2 separate regions of the Homo sapiens genome follow, and region 2 is linked to region 1. Evidence: promoter capture Hi-C in 16 types of primary human blood cells and fetal thymus (Javierre and others, 2016). All regions are on one chromosome and are shown on one strand. The core of a region is centred on a gene start or on the middle of the fragment in contact, and the rest is flanking DNA. Distances in the headings are between cores, read along the strand shown.

Evidence for each region. Contacts are between HindIII fragments. The CHiCAGO score rates a contact against its expected background, and 5 or more counts as called.
Region 2: a fragment that was not itself captured here is called in contact with the fragment with the promoter of TGM2 in region 1 in 1 of 17 cell types (naive B cells); the score reaches 5.5 in naive B cells.

What each region holds. Positions count from the first base shown.
Region 1 is chr20:38,163,820-38,166,519 of GRCh38, forward strand. TGM2 (transglutaminase 2) reads right to left here and starts at 1,451. Exons shown (of 13, transcript NM_004613.4): 1 at 1,370-1,451. The coding sequence starts at 1,379. RefSeq lists a silencer at 1,304-1,743. The HindIII fragment of the contact is 3,789 bases long and covers 1-2,700 here.
Region 2 is chr20:37,587,351-37,590,234 of GRCh38, forward strand. The region is part of intron 3 of LINC01746 (long intergenic non-protein coding RNA 1746); the gene reads left to right. Among named protein-coding and RNA genes, the nearest start is that of LINC01746, 18 kb to the left of the region's middle. The HindIII fragment of the contact is 6,757 bases long and covers 1-2,884 here.

The sequences.
Region 1 (2,700 bases), core at 201-2,700:
GAAAGAGGCCATTGTTGTTCCCATGGAAGACCCTGGAGATACGGCCAGTCCCTGGGCTGTGGGAGCTGGGGCATTTTCTCCATCTGTTGTCCGAAGAAGGGTTTCCAGAAATCACGCCCAGCTCCAAAGATGCAGGTCTAGAATTGTAGGATTTATAGGATTTCTGCACTTAGAAAGGGCCTAGGCCTTCTAGGCCAGTGAGACCTCTGTCAGAAGTGGCCACTGTGACATGGGGCTGGAGGCTCATCATAACTGGCATCTCCAGGATCTCCCAGCCCCACTGAGCCCTGCTTTTGAGCATGGGGGTGAGAAGATGCATTGAGGACAAGCGGCCACCGAGGCGACACATCACAGTGTGTTGGGAGCTGGGCCCGAGGGAGGCAGGTGGCTGAGATCACACAGCAGGGTCAGGTGGGTCCACAGTTCCTGCCACCCATTCCTGCTCCACCTGCCCCATGTCCCTGTCCCACACCCCTTCCTGGGGGTTGCAATGGGTGCAGAAGCCATCCCCAGATGAACTTGACCCAAGAGCCAGCTGGGATTCTGGGTCCAGCAGTGACATCCTCCATTGTAGAAATCCCTCCAGCTGGGACCTACGAGAGTGCTGCTTGTGTGTGGGGAGGGAGTCAGGGGCACCAGTATGAAATTAGTTAAGCCTCTGTTCCACTCCTCTCGTTCCTCACAGATGCACCAAAGGCTGGAGCAGAGGACCAGGGCACGGTCAGGGTGACAGATGGGTGGGGGTCTTGGGGGAAAACAAATCTCATAAACCTTGTCCTATAAAATAAGGACACTGTTGTCCTTATTTTATAGGTGAGACTCAACAATTGGCCAAGGTCTAGGGTTGCAGAACGTGAGGGCGGGAAGAACAAGCCTGATTTCCGAAGGCTCCTGGATAGGATGCCGAAAGCTCCTCTCTGGCCGCTGGAGCCAAGGACTCAGCCAGGCTTGGCTTGCACACCACCGGCGTGGCATGCACACCACCTGGTCCTGGCTGGCAAGAACCACCCAAACCTAAGTGTTCTGAGGCCAGGCCAGCACCCCCTGCACAGCTCCAGGCACACATCAGAGAGCCAGCCCCCACTGACTGACTGAGGACACGTGCCAGTGGTCCGCCAGGACAGTACTTTACAGTTTACAACACCCCGTCGCGTTCCATTGCCTCACCTGATCCAGGGAGGCAAGGGTTAATGGTTATGCAGTGTGGATGGGGAAACTGAGGCTCCAAGCAGCATTGAGACGCCTCCTCACCCAGCCCGGTCTGCCTGTTGCTCTCCAAATCAGGACTTAGGGATTCAGCTCCCACCGGGTCCTGACCCCCAATGCCCCGGGGCCCCTGAGTGGCGGCTGCGGTGACTCTGATACTCACCCTCGGCCATGGTCGGGCGGGGGCGGTGGCTCCTTCCACTGGCGGCGAGACCCTCCAAGTGCGACCACTGGCGGCTGGCACTGCCGAGGCGGAGAGCGGCGCTAACTTATAGCCCGCTTTGGGGCGGGCCGGGGGCGGGGCCCCGCGGGAAGGCGGCGACCTGGGAGGCCACCCATTGCCCAGTCCCGGGCCCACGCCGCCAGCGCTGGGGCTCACCCAGGGGACCGGAGCCCGAGGGAGGGACGGCGGCCGGACGAGGGCGCCCCCTGGGGGAGCGGACAGGGACACACAACTAGCCCAGGATACAGACACACCTGGACCCACAGACTCAGACCTTGGAGAACAGACACCTGGACACACACACTCAGATACAGACACACGCAGCACCCTCATAGAAACACACAACGGAACCGGGGTGCACCTGGACACACAGATGTGGACTCTTAGGTCAGATCTGGGATCAAGAACACCTCCCCACCCCCAACACACACACACACACACACACACACACACGCACACACTCACACACATACTCAGATATACATACACAGAGAGCAGACGCAGACACACCAAGACAGGGCTGTGGAGATACACACACAAACACAGATACACTCCCACAGATACACCAAACACGGCTGGCCACGCAGACACAGTGACATGGATACAAATTCAGATTCGAATGGCAGACACACACCAGGACATAGATACAGCCTGACACAGCCAGGTAGCCTTGACCGCGAGCCACACACAGCTGTGGACACAGATGAGCAGGTGTCCAGAGGCACCTGGCACACACACAGACCTCCTAGACACCAATGCCACTGTCAGATGTGGACGCAAAATCAGAGAGGGCACCCACAGACACACAAAGATGTGGCTACTCAGAGGTAGACACACATGCAGGCATGGACTCAGGTACAGACATGCAGACACACCTGCAAAAACAGACACACCCATGTCCCTTCCTGTAGCAAAACCCAGATAATCCTCCGATCTCACCCATCCTTGTATCTGTCTAATCAGCCATCCATCTAATCAGCCATCCATCTACCCATCCATCCACTCACCCATGCATCACCTACCCCCCCACCTATCCATCCACTCATCCCTTCATCCATCCCTCCCTCGGCCTTCTCTTCCCTCCCTCCCTCAATCCATCCATCCACTGAGCTTTCTTGAGGCCCCACTGTGTGCCAGAAAGGAGCAAGACTAACTTTCCAGGGACTCAGCCTAGGACTTCTCGAACCTGGCAACCAGGGGTCCTATCTCTCATCCTGGTATCTCTGGTCTCTTGGTCTCCTGTGCTTCCGGATCCACTGTGAGCCCTGAGC
Region 2 (2,884 bases), core at 283-2,782, 580 kb before region 1:
GTTAAGAAAAAAAGGAAAAATACATAACACGAAAACCATAACCAAAAGAGTTCTGGAGAGGCTATGCTAACATTAGACACAGTAATCTTTAAGATAAAGATTAATACTAGAGACAAAAAAGGATGTTTTATAATGATAAAATGGTCAATCCATCAGGTATACATAACAGCTATAAACACATATGCATCTAACAATAAAGCTCCAAAATACATGAAGCAAAAACTGACAGAATTGAAGGCAGAAATAGACAATTCAACAATAATAGATGGAAACTTTAATATTCTACTTTTAATAATGAATACGATACCTATGCAGAAGATCAACAAGGAAATGAAAGACCTGAACAATATTAAAAACTAACTTGACCTAACAGACACCTATGGAATATTCCTCTCAACAGCAGCATTTTTCTTAAGTATGCATAGATCATTCTCTAAAATAGATAATATGTTAGGTCACAGAACTAGTCTCATATGTTCAAAAGGATTTAAATCACACAAAATATGTTTTCTGACCACATAAAATGAAATTAATTATAAAAACATAATGAAAGAACTTTGGGAAAGCACTTTCCAAAAAAATGTGGAAATATAAACAACACACTACTAACTAGCCAATTAGTCAAAAAAGAAATAACAAGGAAAACTAGAAAATATTTTGAGATGAATGAAAATGAAGACACAACATACCACAACTTATGGGATGTTGCTTAGGCAGTGCTTAGAGGAAAGTTTACAGCTACAATCACCTATATTAAAATAAATAAAGATCTCGAATCAGTCACCTAAACTTCCTCCATAAAGAAATTAGAAAAAGAGGGGCAAACTAAATCCACAGTAAGCAGAGACAATTACATAATAAAAATTAAAGAGGAAATAAGTGAATGTACCACTTTATACCTAGTAGGATGGGTATAATAATGAAAAAAGGACAATAACAGGTGTTACTTGGCAAGGATTTGGAGAAATTGAAACCCTCATACATTAATGATGGGAATATAAAATGGAAACATTTTGTCAGTTTCTCAAAAAGTTGGACATAGAGTTACTATAGGACCCAGCAATTTTACTTTTAGGTATACATCCAGTCAAATGAACCTATTTTCAAACAAAAACTTACTAATGTATGTTTATAGCTACATTATTTATAATAGCCAAAAGGTGTAAGCAACCCAAACATCCATTAGCTGATGAATGTGTAAACAAAATGTGGTATATCCATACAACAGGGTATTATTCAGTCATGAAAAGAAAGGTGCTACAACGTAGATGACCCTTGAAAACATTATGCTAAGTGAAAGAAGACACAAAAGGCCACACATTGTATGATTCCATTTATATGAGAGATCTAAAATAAGGAACTCCATGGAGACAGGAAGTAGATTGGTGGTTGCCTAGGGCTGGGAGCAGGGAGAAATGAGGTCTAACTGCTAATGGGTATGGGGTTTCTTTTTGAGGTGTTGGAAATGTTCTGGAATTAAATAGTGATTGTACAACTTTGTGAATATACTAAAGACACTGAATGCGCACTTTAAAAGGATATATTTTATGGCATATGAATTATATCTCAATAAAACTGTCATAAAAGTCAATGTTCTGCCATGCTATTTTCTTCTTGTGTATCTTTCCAGAGATACTCTAGGCATGTGGCAGCATATATATGTATATAGTAAATATTTCTGTTTTTTTTTTGTTTGTTTTTGTTTTGTTGAGATGGAGTCTCGCTCTCTCGCCCAGGCTGGAGTGCAGTGGTGTGATCTCAGCTCACTGCAATCTCCTCCTCTTGGATTCAAGTGATTCTCCCACCTCAGCCTCCAGAGTAGTTGGGATTACAGGCATGTGCCGCAACAACCCAGCTAATTTTGTATTTTTAGTAGAGATGGGGTTTCACCATGTTGGCCAGGCTGGTCTCGAACTCCTGACCTTAAGTAGTCTGCCTGCCTTGGCCTCCCAAAGTGCTGGGATTACAGGTGTGAGCCACCGCGCCCAGCCTATAATAAATATTTCACTAAGTCTGAGATTCTATTAATGAAAACAGTATTTTATGTACTAAAAAGGAAGAAAAAATTAATTTTAATTGTAAGGCATATCTCAATTTCAGGGATGTTAACATGTTTAACATGTGGCTCTTGGAATCAGTGCAAATATTGATCACGTGTTTTGGAGAGCTCATGAATCAGGATATATCCTGGATGTGGTGGATACTTTCAGTGAACCTCATAGGTCCCTTTCAGACAGCTCCTGCACACAGTAATGGTTTTCTGCGTCTTTATCTAAGGGTGCTTCCTGGGTGCGCTTAGCCCAGAAATGCAGAATTAGTGCCCAGGAGCAACCTTCAGTCAGCAAGGAACAGGAGATGTAGAGAAAGCCAGCCATGGTGGCTCACGCCTGTAATCCCAGCACTTTGGGAAGCCGAGGCGGGCAGATCACTTGAGGTCAGGAGTTTGAGACCAGCCTGGCCAACATGGCGAAACCGTGTCACTGCTAAAATACAAAAAAGAAAAAAGAAAAAGAAAACAAAGAAAAAAAATTAGCCGACTGTGGTGGCACATGCCTGTAATCCCAGCTACTTGGGAGACTGAGGCAGGAGAATCGCTTGAACCCGGGAGGTAGAGGTTGCAGTGAGCCAAGATCTTGACACTGCACTCTGGCCTGGGCGACAGAGCAAGACTCCATCTCAAAACAACAACAACAACAAGAAACCAACCAGGAATTTGAAAGAAGCACCAACAACTTCCTTGCCCTTCAGAGACAATTCTGAAGTGCGTCTCACATGGTCTTTCAGAGGATGTCTAGCAGGACGGAGCCCCAGAGACCCCAGGTGTTAACTCACTCAGAATACACATTTGTCTCCTGTCATCCTTGCTGAGATTCCTAGGATCCCA